Linked DNA regions of Homo sapiens: region 1 is linked to region 2. Evidence: promoter capture Hi-C in human tissues and cell types (Jung and others, 2019). All regions are on one chromosome and are shown on one strand. The core of a region is centred on a gene start or on the middle of the fragment in contact, and the rest is flanking DNA. Distances in the headings are between cores, read along the strand shown. Region 1 has its middle 3.5 kb from the start of GMCL2. Region 2 holds the start of COL23A1 (collagen type XXIII alpha 1 chain).

Region 1 (6,476 bases), core at 1,159-3,658, 400 kb before region 2:
CCTCCTGAGTAGCTGGGATTACAGGCGCCCGCCACCACACCTGGGTAATTTTTGTATTTTTAGTAGAGGCGGGGTTTCCCCATGTTGGCCAGGCTGGTCTCAAACTCCTGACTTCAGGTGATCCTCTTACCTTGGCCTCCCAAAGTGCTGGGACTACAGGCGTGAGCCACTGCCTCCGGCCTAAAACAATTTCTTTTAGAGACAAGGTTTCACTGTGTTTCTCCGGGTGGTCTTGAACTCCTTGGACAGCATTCTTCATTGCTGGAAGCAATTCTCATCTGGCAGCCAAAACCAAGGTCCGTTTTAGAAGGACCACTTCCCTAGGAGCAAAGTTTTATTTGCAAGACCTGACAAAGGAAAATGTGTGTACCAGACGCTTGAGCCTAACCAGTCCAATGTAAATTTGCGACCAGGCACAAAAATAAAATAAAATAATAAAATAAAATAGGCCAGGCTCGGTGGCTCATGCCTATAATCCCAGCACTTTGGGAGGCCAAGGTGGGTGGATCACATGAGGTCAGGAGTTTGAGACTGGCCTGGCCAACATGGTGAAACCCCATCTCTACTAATAATATAAAATTTAGCCAGGTGTGGTGGTGCACGCCTGTAATCCCAGCTTTTCGGGAGGCTGAAATGGAGAACTGCTTGAACCCAGGAGGCAGAAGTTGCAGTGAGCCAAGATCGCATCATTACATTCCAGCCTGGGCGACAAGAGCGAAATTCCGTCTCCAGAAAAAAATAATAAGATAAAATAAAATAGAATAAAGACTTGAAGTCAAGCCAGGTACGGTGGCTGCTCACACCTGTAATCCCAGCACTTTGGGAGGCCGAGGTGGGCAGATCACGAGGTCAGGAGTTCAAGACCAGCCTGGCCAATATGGTGAAAGTGACCATGGCTGGGTGAAATGATCACTGCAGCCGGTCTGGGAAGGCAGAAGCAAGCAGAGGGCCTGGGCAGGATAGGCAGGGATTCTCTGTGGGGAGGATCTGTGGAGACAGGGGCAGCAGGATTAGGATGTCGGAATTGAGGAGGCTTTTGTCCTTGGGGGATGGAGTGGAGAAGTGGGGCATGGTCCTGGAAATTTGCCCTGCAGCCTCACCAGGCCATCTGGAAGCTACTTGTTGGGAACCCCGTGTGTGTAAAGGGCTGACCCAGGCCCAGACCCGGAGGAACTGGAGAAGGGCACACACTGAGACCACCCGAGGGGTGTGCTGGAACTGCTTGGCCAGTCCTTGGGGATGGGATGGCTGGGGCATGTGGGTGTCTTCCTGTAAGAAAACAGGACTTGATGAGGAAGGTGGGAGGCTGTTCCAGGCAGATGGAGGTCTGTGCCCCCAGAGCAATGTAGGAGTCGCCATGCGGGGCTCCATCTTTGGTACAGTGGGGGCAGAGATTGGCGAGGGGCATCAGGGCCAGATATGTAGGTGTGGGGAGCCCTAGATGGGCCAGTGCTGCAGGGGGAGGCAAGGTCATGCCAGGGAGGTGGATGGGACGCTGGACACAAGTGAAGAGTGACCAGCCCTGTGGCTTCCTCAAACCTATGTGAGTGCCTGCCCCATTCCCAGATGAAGAAAACAGAGGTTTCAATAGGGAAAGTGACTTGTTCTAAATCCCAGAGTTGGGAAGTCAGGAAGCTCAGCCTCCTGATTCCAAAGGCAAATCTGGAGTTTCTGTTGGAGTTAAGGGGCCAGGTGAATGGTCTATGTTGACCAAAAAAAAAAAAAAAAAAAAAAAAAAGCTCTGTAAAATGTTTAAAGAAGTTTATTCTCTGGCGTGAACCCGGGAGGCAGAGCTTGCGCCACTGCACTCCAGCCTGGGTGACAGAGCGAGACTCCATCTCAAAAAAAAAAAAAAAAAAAGAAGTTTATTCTCAGCTGATATGAGTGACCATGACCTGGGGTACAGTCTCAAGAGGTCCTGAGAAAGTGTGCCTCAGATGGTTGGGTTATAGTTTGGTTTTATACATTTTAGGGAGACAGAGGTTACAAGCAAATACATCAATCAATACATGTAAAGTACACATTGCTTCAGCCTATAAGGGCAGGACAACTCCAGGGGAGTTACAGGTCATAGGTGATTCAAAGGTTTTCTGATTGGCAATTGGTTGAAAAAGTTAAGCTTTGTCTAAAGAGTTGAAGTGGCTGGGTACAATGACTGACATCTGTAATCCCAGCACTTTGAGAGGCCGAGGAGGATGGCTTGATCCCAGGAGTTTTCAACAAGCCTGGGCAGCGTAGTGAGACCCGGTGTCTACAAAAAAATTTTAAAAATTAATTGGGCATCGTGATGTGCACCTGTAGTCCCAGCTACTTGGGAGGCTAAGGTGGGAGGATTACTTAAGCCCAGGAGGTCGAGCCTATGGTGAGCCATGACTGTGACACTGCATTCCAACTCGGGGGACAGAATGAGACCCTGTCTCAAAAATAAAATAAAACAGGCCAGTTGCAGTAGCTCACACCTGTAATCCCAGCACTTTGGGAGGCCAAGGCAGATGGATCACTTGAGGTCAGGAGTTCAATACCAGCCTGGCCAATATGGTGAAACCCCATCTCTACTAGAAATAGAAAAATTAACTGGGAGTGGTGGCATGCATCTGTAATCCCAGCTACTCTGGAGCCTGAGGCAGGATAATTGCCTGAACCTGGGAGGTGGATGTTGCAGTTAGCCGAGGTCGCACCATTGCACTCCAGCCTGGGCAACAAGAGTGAAACTCCATCTCCAAAAAAAATAGTAAGATAAAATAAAATAAAGAGTTGAAGGCATGGTGGCTCACGCCTGTAATCCCAGCAGTTTGGAGGCCAAGGAGGGCAGATCACGAGGTCAGGAGTTCGAGACCAGCCTGGCCAATATGGTGAAACCCTGTCTCTACTAATAGTACAAAAATTAACTGGGTGTGGTAGCACACATCTGTAGTCTCAGCTACTCTGGAGGCTGAAGCAGGAGAATCGCTTGAACCCAGGGAGGTGGAGGTTGCATTGCACTCCAGCCTGGGCGACAGAGCGAGATTCCATCTCAAAAAAAAAAAAAAAAGCGTTGAAGTCAGTGGGAAGAAATGCTTGGGTTAAGAAAGGGGTTGTGGAAGCTGAGGTTCTTGTTACGTAGATGAAGCCTCCAGGTAGCAGCCCTCAGAATAGATAGTGAATGTCTCTTTTCAGACCTTCAAAAGTCTCAGACTCTCATTGAATCTCTCCTAAATCTGACAAAGTCCTGGCTACATTAATGGAAATTCTCTACAGATGCAAATTTCCCCCATGGGAGACAGCTTTGCAGGGCCATTTCAAAATATTGTCAAATAAATATATTTTGGGGTAAAATATTTTGATGCCCTTCAGGGTCTGCTATCTGTTACGTGATGTACCAGAGTCAGGTAGAAATTTGGCATCTTATTGCTACAAAAATTCTGTTTTGAGCCAGGCACGGTGTCTCACACCTGTAATCCCAGCACTTTGGGAGGCTGAGGTGGGTGGATCACCTGAGGTCAAGAGGTCAAGAGTTTGAGAGCAGCCTGGCCAACATAGTGAAACCCCATCTCTACTAAAAATACAAAAAATTAGCTGGATGTGGTGGTGGGCGCCTGTATTCCCAGCTACTCAGGAGGCTGAGGCAGAAGAATTACTTGAACCCGGGGGCCAGAGGTTGCAGTGAGCCAAGATCATGCCATTGCACTCCAGCCTGGGCAACAAGAGCGAAACTCTGTCTAAAAAAAAAAAGTCTGTTTTGTCAGTCTTATGATCTCTATTTTATTTATTTATTTTTAATTTATTTTATTTTATTTTTGAGACAGAGTTTCACTCTCGTTGCCCAGGCTGGAGTGTAATGACGCTATCTCGGCTCACTGCAGCTTCTACCTCCCAGGGTCAGACAATTCTTGTGCCTCAGCTTCCCAAGTAGCTGAGATTACAGGCATGTGCCACCATGCCTGGCTAATTTTTTGAATTTTTTGTAGAGATGGGGTTTCATCATGTTGGCCAGGTTGGTCTCGAACTCCTGACCTCAAGTGATCCACCTGCCTTGGCCTCCCAAACTGCTGGGATTACAGGAATGAGCCACTGCGCCTGGCTAGAATAAATACTTTATGCTTTGGGCCAACAGGCAAAATCGAGGGTATGAAGTCGGTAAGTACATACCAAGAAATGAAACCAACTTCCATAATTTGGGGGGATTGCTATTGACAGAATGTCAAAGTTAATTTATGGATGCTGAAAGTTGAGTTTCATACAATTTTTATGTGTCATGAAATATTATTATTTTCATTATTTATTTATTTATTTGTTTATTTATTTATTTATTTTTGATACAGAGTCTTGCTCTGTCATCCAGACTGTGATCTCAGCTCACTGCGACCTCTGCCTTCTGGGTTCAAGCGATCCTCTGCCTCAGCCTCCCAAGTAGCTGGGATTACAGGCACATGCCACCACACCTGGCTAATTTTTTTGTATTTTTAGTAGAGATGGGGTTTCACCATGTTCAAGGCCAGGCTGGTCTTGAACTCCTGACCTCAAGTGATCTGCCTGCCTCAGCCTCCCAAAGTGCTGGGATTATAGGTGTGAGCCACTGCACTCAGCCTGATTTTTTTTTCAATGATTTAAAAATGTAAAAACCATTCTTTGTTCAGGGATCATATAAAATCAAGCAGTAAGCAAAATTTGGGCTATGGGCCATAGTTTGCCAACTCCTGGTCTAGATCTGCCCTGTTCATCATAGTAGCCACTGGCTACATGCAGCTATTGAGTACTTGAAATGTGGCCAGGGACAGTCACGATGGCTCACACCTGTAATCTCAGCACTTTTGGAGGTTAACGTGGGAGGATGGCTTGAACCCAGCAGTTTCAAGTTACAGCAAACTATGATTGCAACACTGCATCCCAAACCTGGGTGACAGGGAAAGAAAGAAAAAGAGAGAGAGAGAGGGAGGGAGAGAGAGAGAGAGAAGGAGGAGGAGGAGGAGGAGAAAGAGAGAAAAGAAAGAAAGAGAAAGAAAGAAGAAAAAGAAAGAAGAAAGAAAATAAGAAATAAGAAAGGAAGAAAAAAGAAAGAGGGAGGGAGAAAGGGAGGAAGGAAGGGAAGGGAGGGAGGAAAAGAAAAAGAAGTGTGGCTGTACTGAATTAAAATATGCTTAGGTGTAAAATACACACTAGATTTTGAAGACAGTACAAAAAGAAAATATCCCAATAACTTTTTGTTGATTATATTTTGGATATCTCAGAATAAGTAAAATATATTATTGAAATTAACTTCACCCCCCCCCCTTTTTTTTTTTACTTTTTTTTACTTTGTCTTAGTCCACTTTCTGTTGTTCGAATATCTGAGACTGGATAATTTTTAAAGAAAAGAGGTTTATTTAGCTCACGGTTCTGCAGGCTGGGAAGTTCCAGATTGGACGGCTGCATCTGGCAGCTTCTGGTGAGAGCTGTGTGCTGCACCAAAATGTGGCAGAGAAATGGAAGGCGGACCAGGCACCTGGAGGAAAGGGGGAAAACACGAGGGGCGACCTTGCTTGATGACAACCCAACTCTGAAGGTAACTGATCCAGACCCAAGAGAGTGAGAACTCACTTCTATGGGACTTGCATTAATATCCTGTCGTGAAGGCCCATCCCTCATGATCCAAACACCCCTGAAAGGTCCCCCCACGTCTCAATGCCGTTATATTGGCAATTAAATTTCAACATGAGTTTTGGTAGGGGCAAACCACATCCAAACCATAGCATCTTCTCACTGTTGAGTCACTTTTTAATGTGGCTATTAGAAAAATTTAAATGACATGTGTGTTTGCACTTGTGGCTGTTTTGCATCCGTATCTGGTATACAGTGCTGCTCTAGTAGTGAAGGTGGAGCGCCCCGAGTGAGATGACCCCGATTTGCCTCGGGGGGAAGTGGAAGGGCGTGGCCTGGTGTTCAGCAGTGGAGTGTGGGATCACGGAGGGACAGCTGGATCTCATTAAGGTGAAGTGGAGGGGCAGGGTTCACGGAGGCACACACTGAGGAAGCTTCTGCAGCAGTGAGTTGAGGGAGTGGTTAGGCTTTGTGGGTAGGGGACTGAGCTGTTTGAGGGTATCTGTAAGAGGCTGTGCAGCAAGGCAGGTGGCAAGAAGCAAGATGTTGGCTGGGCATGGTGGCACATGCCTGTAATCCCAGCACTTTGGGAGGCCAAGGCAGGAGGATTGCTTGAGGCTGGGAGTTTGAGACCAGCCTGATCAACATAGTGAGACCACGTCTCTATAAAAAATAAATCAATAAATAAAATTTAAAAAGCAAGATGTTGCCAAGCAGTTGGCCAAGTGGTGAGTATGAAAGAGAGAGACCCTGCCCTGAGGGCTTTCTGTCTCTCACCCACCTGGATCAGCACACAGCATGTATTTGTCTTCCACTCCAAGCCTACATCCTGGCCCCTGTTGGAGAAGGGCTCTGACCAGTTCACTGGCAGAATATGAAAATTGTATGTTAAGACATGCACGGCATGAAGCCCTAAGAAG
Region 2 (6,504 bases), core at 3,485-5,984:
GGTAACACTCCACAGCCCTGGATGGCGCTGGGGTAATGCCCTACAGCCCTGGATGGCGCTGGGGTAACACTCCACAGCCCTGGCTGACCCTGTTGGTTGCTCCCCAGTAGCCATGCCCAGTCTTCCTTCCTACCAAAGCCTCGATTCTGTTCCAGCGGCAACACGCCCAGCCTCAGGGGATGAGTCAAGATTGGCCAAAGCCTCCTATGGCGATCGCATTACCCTTGCCAGTGAAGGGGATGGCGACCCTGTGACCTAGCTCTGGCTAGTGGCTGTAAGTCTGCCGAAAGGTGGGAAAGTTTTCCCCTGAATTGAAATTAAAGAGACAACCTCTCAAGAAGACCGCTCTCTTCCCTGCCCCCTTCCCTTCTACCCAGGCTACTCTTGGGTGAAGACATAGGTTCACAGCTGCAGCAGCCACCTTGTGACCATGAGGAAAGGACAAGAGAACGGCAGAGACTGAGTGGTACTCAGGTGTGGCCAAGTCGCTGACAGACCCAGGATGCGCTGACCGTCTTCCAAGCTTCTCCTGTAGTGTGTGCTAAGAAAGGACACTCAGATATTCTGTTACTTCCCATCAAAAGCATATTTACCATCCTGTACTTTTCCTGTCTGTTATCATATTTGCATACATGGGAGCTGTGACCACACTATCAGAGGAGAGGCAGTGGAAGAGGTTGGATGACAGAGCTGGTAAATGGTGGGACCAGGCCTCAAACTCTCTTCTGCTGATAGGAAACCTCAGGCATGGTCTGCTCTGCTCTGCCTCTGGTATAAATTCATTCAGCTTACAGATTCCCCAACCTCAGGGGCCATGCCTCAAATTTTCAAAGCCGATGTGGAAAAGTCCAATCCAAAATGACAAAATATGTCTGTGAAAGGAACGCCCCAATCCTTGGCTCATTCTAAACATGCTACTATTATTATAAAGCTCTCCCAAACTGTTGCAAGGAAAAAAAAAAAAGGACAAGAAAAGAGTGGAGAGAGAAAGTGAACATGCCAAGAAGTCATTGAAAGGAAACTTTTTTTTGTTGTTTTGGGAGCCAGGAAATGTCAAGGAAACAAATGTAGCTATGATTTACACTGCATCTCCAGTTGTGCCATGGAATTCAAAAATAGGCATCTTAATTAAAACTGACAGCAGAGAGCAGCCCTGACAAGTAGACAAACCACCAAAGAGGCTGAAAAATCTCCATTTGACTCTGGGTTGACAGTATTTAACCAATATACAGAGTTGATAAGAGAAAAGGAAAATGCGTAAACTTTACTCGAGTCTCTGGGCTTTTCTTGTTTTCAAACTGATTGGTCTGGACAATGGAAGGCCAACAGCCAACAATAAATCCATTGTAAGCTGGCATGGTCTCCTCTGAATACAACTAAATATTTCTTTAATCCTTGCATTACATTTTTTACTGTATTATGAAAGCCATGTATTCTAAAGTTTTAAGCTTTTATAACATTGTAACTATAGGTATAAGATGGGGGGATTGATTACTTAGGCAACCTATTTAAAGCACTTTAAGAGGAAAATATTAGATTTTTTTGCATGAATATTTTCACATCATAGTGAAGATACGATCGTTCATGGCTCTTACTCAGAAATCTTGTTTATCTCTTCCTTTGTGTGCCATGGGAAGGGTCTTTAATGATCATGAGTTGACATGAATATTCCTTTCTTGTAGCTTCTGTATCTTCATTATCGGGCACATCAGCCGGTCCCAGAAAAAGTTATTTCACAGTTCTGTTCCCAAGGGAACAAAGAGAGTGGGTCCCATATTCACAGTGGCTTTTGTTGGCTTCTTTCCCCCTGACATTAAAGCCATGTATGGTTGGCAAGGATGTCTTTTCTTTAATGTGGACATGGTTTCTGCCTCTGGTTCTCTGGAAACAAGTTTGCTGTAGGACAAGCTGCCCGCACACTCACATACACGGAAAAGAGGCTTCACTGAGAACAAATCAGAACTGAAAAACAGCTTCAAGTACAAATGTTCTTTTCTTCCGAGATTTTGAGTTCAATATTTATTTGGCTTTCATATCTAATGGCTTGAAAAAGTATCTATACATCTAATTAGAGTTAATTACTCACTCCCTGTATGTGCCTCCCACAGTGCTCTCCTCCCAGCCAAGGAACTCATTGTTACCGGCCAGGCTGTGTACATTTCCCATCCAGTGACATTTACAAGAAGAATAGCTCCTAGCAGAAACAGGCTGGTACCCTAAGAGAGAGAAGCTGTCTCACAGGGGCCACCCAAACAACCAGAAGTTCAGCCCCAACTGCATTCATACTGCACCATCTCTGACTCTCCACTGGCGGGAAAACCCAGCCAGCTTACACTCCACGCACAGCATGCGCCTCAGATACCCAGCTGGGATTAGCGAGCAGGACCACGTGTGAATGGCACGGCAAATTCTCCAGAATACAGGGTTCCCTGGATTCTAAATTTTTCTCTTGCCTTTCTAATCAAGAACAGAGAGAGAGAGAGAACACACACCCTGTCCAATAACTCATTGTTCAAGCACTGTAGTTCACCCAGGTAAAATTCAGTGCAGCCGGGAGGGGGGAAGCCTGGGAGAGCAACTGCAGTCTCTCCCGCTGAAGTTCAGGACTCAAAAATCAACACTTCCCAGCAGTGGCTGCCTGCCCAGGATGCCCCTCCCTCCTAAAATAGACACAATTTGTAGTTCCTTGTAAAATGGTTGTATCAGGACTTCTGATTTACTCAATCAGGGCTTGCGGTTTATTTTTAGCAAATAAGAGAGGCCTCCTATGAGAAAGAGCAGCCACACTTATAGCGCTAACAGGTAGAAACTTTACTGGCCCTCTATAAATCAATTCAACACCCTGGTCTCCAGGCATTTGCCAAAAGCTAATGGGCGGCAATTATGAAACCATCGCCAGGAGTTTCCAGCAGGGCTGAGAGAGAGTTTTAAGTCTGCAGGCCCTTTCAAGGGTAAAATAGGAAATCATTTCATGAAGCAGCAATTTTACCCAGAACCCAGCTAGAAGAGATGTGATCCTAGCTTAAATTAAAGTGACTAAGAAACAGGTGGGGTGAACAAGGAGGTGTGGTACGCAAGTCATCTTCTCCCACTTTCCTTTGGAATCCAAAGGAACTCAACATTGGAAACACAGCTGGATACGTTAATAAAGATCCCAGCTGGGCAGTCTAGGGAATTGGGGGTGTACAGGCCAGTGCTCCCTCTCCTCCACCTTGAAACCCTGCCTGTTTTCACACAGCAATTGAGGATGCGCCCTTGGACAGCGACCTTGGGGTCTGGAGCAGCCATCTATCCCAGGAGAAGGAGGAAGGCTCGGCAGGGGAGGCTCTGGCCAGCCCACCAGGGCCTGTCCAGTTTCGTGGGGAGGGGAACTGCCGCACATGCCGCACACAAAAGGCGGAGGCTTTGACCAACATGCTGGGTGAGGGCTTGGAGGACCCAAAGGTGGCTCTTTCTTTGAAGACACACAGCAGCAATCTTAACCCTTAGAAGTGTCACAGAGCCTCATATGAGCTTTCAAGTAAGCTGTGGAAGTCGCGATTCCCAGGTAAGGGACGGGAAACTCCGGATGTCCTGCGAGCCCACACCCCAGATGGCACCGCCTGAAACCAGAATCCAGGTCCTCCACCCCCGATTGTTTCTCCTTCCTCTCATCTTACCAAGTCATGTGGGCGCCCCCACCCCCATCCCCGAGGCCTCAGTGCGACGGTGACCGCTCAGTCTTGGGGCCTGAGCTGCTGGAGACACACTGGAGCACAGCGGGGCCCAGCCCTCGGGCCTGTCTGAGGCTTTCCTCCGCCGTGACCACCGCCTCTCCAGGTGTACCAGCGTTGGTTAGGAACAGTAGGTGCTACTGGTCACAGTCACCAGATACTTCCCACGAGCCTCATCTTTATCCCCGACTCTGGCCGCCGGCGGGAAGCGGCGTGTCCGAGCGCACACCCCGTGGAGACTGACCCTAGGTCTGTTACTCCAAAGTCCCTGGTCTCTCCTTCCCCTTTCTCGCGGCCGCCTGCCTGGCACGGGACCCTGAGGCCGGAGCGGAGACCGCAAAACCCCTTGGGGCCGGCACCCCCTGCCTCCGCCTTGGCGCAGACGTGCCCATCTCTGGGACGGCCCCGAGCGCACGCAGCCGGCGGGCGACCCTCCTCCCAGAGACCTGCACGCTGCCCCCGGCTCCCAGCGTACCGCCACCCTCAACCCGACACACCCAAGTCCGCCCCAGCCACGCGCCAAGACGCTCACCTCCCGCAGCAGGCGCTCCAGGTGCGGCTCGGCCCAGGCGTCCAGGGCGCCTGGCGGCCCCGCGCGCCGCAGCAGCTCCCGCTCCTCCTCGAGCGCCGCCACCCGGCCCTGCAGCGCGGCCGCCTGGACACCCAGCAGCAGGCAGGCAGCCGCCGAGCCCACGGAGAGCAGCAGGCACAGCGCGCTCACCGCCCGGGACCCGGCCGTCGTCGCCGAGCGCCCTCCGCCGCCGCCGCCCGCCGCATTGCCCTTCCCCGCGTCGCCGCCGCCACCGGCGCGCTCGCCTGGGCCCATGGCGCGTTCGTCGCGCGTGGACTCTCCGAGGGGGCGGTGCTGCTGGGGCAGAGGCTGGGTGCGAGAGGAGCAGGCGGGACAGCCCGAGGCACGAGGTCCGCCGGGCGCGGGGGTTAGCCTCCGGGTAGCAGCGGATCGCCGCGCACGCCCCCTTCGCCGCAGCCAGCTCCTCCACAGCGGCCACTTTGGGCAGTTTCCTCTATGCAAATAGACCCTGCCAGAAAAGGAGCAGGGACCCACCCAGGGGAGGAGCGGCCGGGCTGGCCCCGCGCGGCGAGGGGGCGGGGGCGAGGAAGGAGCGAGCTCCTCGGAGCCACCCGTCGGCGCCGGGCTGATCCCACGCGCAGCGCGCACCTCTGCCCTCACCTAGCCCGGGCGCCGGCACCCGCCCCCGCACGCACCTCTGAGGCTTCCCCAGCCCAAGCCCGCACTGTGGACCCCAGAGGTCGGAGGGGAGCCCGGCGACACCGCGCCCCTTCTGCAGCCCACCCCTGGCTGGAGCACCCACCACTCGTGCCTTAGCACATTCCTCTAAACTTGTGAATTACCTTTCTGACACTTGTAAAAGTTCAAAACTTCAAATCCTGCAAAAAACTGAGTGGGTCTGTCCTCGGTGGTGGATTAGCGCCGCTTCGTGGCGGAAAGCGACCTCTGCGCACTCACATTTAGAGAGGCAGGGTCGAGATTGCGCCAAACAGAAATACGCCCCTTAGAATCTTCTCACGAGTTCTTAGCTGCCGGACTTCGGTGCGGGAAACAAAAATGGTAAGACTGTTTCTGGCCTGGAGAGGGCTTTTGAGAAAACTGAGACTATAACGAATGGGAAAGATTCAGAAAATGAACTTCAAGTCTTGTTCAACTGATGACTTAATTCTGTATTAGACGCACAACTTGGCCAAAAATTATGATCTAGTATGCACCACACTTAACCTGTACTGCGATTCTGCTGCAAATTTAAATCACAGGGCTGAGGCAAGAAGGCTGTGGCGTACAGCCTGGGTCCAGAGAACAGAATGAGTGGCACTAACAAGTCTTGGCAGGAAAGGGAAGAACTGCTGGAAGTCAGGCTGGGTTCAGATTCCTACCAGGCATATTCATGTCCTAAATGGGTCCCAAGTAACTCTTTCGCTAACTCCTGTAATACCTAAATGAAACAACAAACCAGCAGTTCAGATCTTTGTGATTTGAGTAACCCCCCAACCATTTTTTTTTAAGAAAAATAACGTTATATCCATCTTCCCTCTCACTCTGGATATCTTCTGGTTGTCTCATTTCTGTGGATACTCACCTTTTAGAACTGTTGAGTGCCTCTGGCTAACATGTTCCATCTCCTTCCCTTAATTCAGAGGGGAACCCCTGAGATGGCCGGGGGTTATGGTTGATAGACTTGGCTCTGTGCTAAAGTCTGGTGTATGCCCAATAGAATGAAAAGTTGGCCTCATTCTGAAAAGAGGCCAACACCCTCTTACAAGTCAGCACTACATTTCTTACAGGCACATAAACTGCACACCACCTACCTATGTTAATGTTACTGCATGTATTGTTTGCCATGTTCCTGAAGCTTCTGTGTATTGAAAAAGCCAAGCTCACTGGCCCCTGGGCCTCTGCCCTTGCCTACCACCTCACTACCTGCATTCCTGCTCTCAGATCGTTAAACGGCAAGCCCCTCCTCATCCTCCAGGTCAAGGTCCTCAACCTCACTGCTTCTAAAAGATCTTCCCAGACTGCCCAATTTAAGGTGGCCCACAAGATTAATCAGGGAATTGGGGCGGCTGAATTAAGATGGAAATACTGTCTGCAACTCATTCTAAAAGGCGAAAAAGAAAATGACTTACTTGTGTCCATTAGGGTCCTGGAAGAATAGATGGCATCCTCAGAGAGGGTGACTCAAGACAGCCTGAATGTAGAGCCACTTCACAAAGTGGAGATCAGAGGGGCCAGCAGGGGAGGCCGAAGCAGCACTCT

Evidence for each region. Contacts are between HindIII fragments. The study calls those that stand out against the background at their distance.
Region 1: a contact is called between a fragment that was not itself captured here and the fragment with the promoter of COL23A1 in region 2, in 1 of the 25 tissues and cell types used here (spleen).

What each region holds. Positions count from the first base shown.
Region 1 is chr5:178,187,598-178,194,073 of GRCh38, forward strand. No RefSeq gene overlaps it. Among named protein-coding and RNA genes, the nearest start is that of GMCL2, 3.5 kb to the left of the region's middle. The HindIII fragment of the contact is 8,651 bases long and covers 1-6,476 here.
Region 2 is chr5:178,585,659-178,592,162 of GRCh38, forward strand. It overlaps COL23A1 (collagen type XXIII alpha 1 chain), which reads right to left and starts at 4,735. Exons shown (of 29, transcript NM_173465.4): 1 at 4,246-4,735. The coding sequence starts at 4,539. RefSeq lists an enhancer at 3,181-4,081 and a silencer at 4,737-4,936. The HindIII fragment of the contact is 6,512 bases long and covers 986-6,504 here.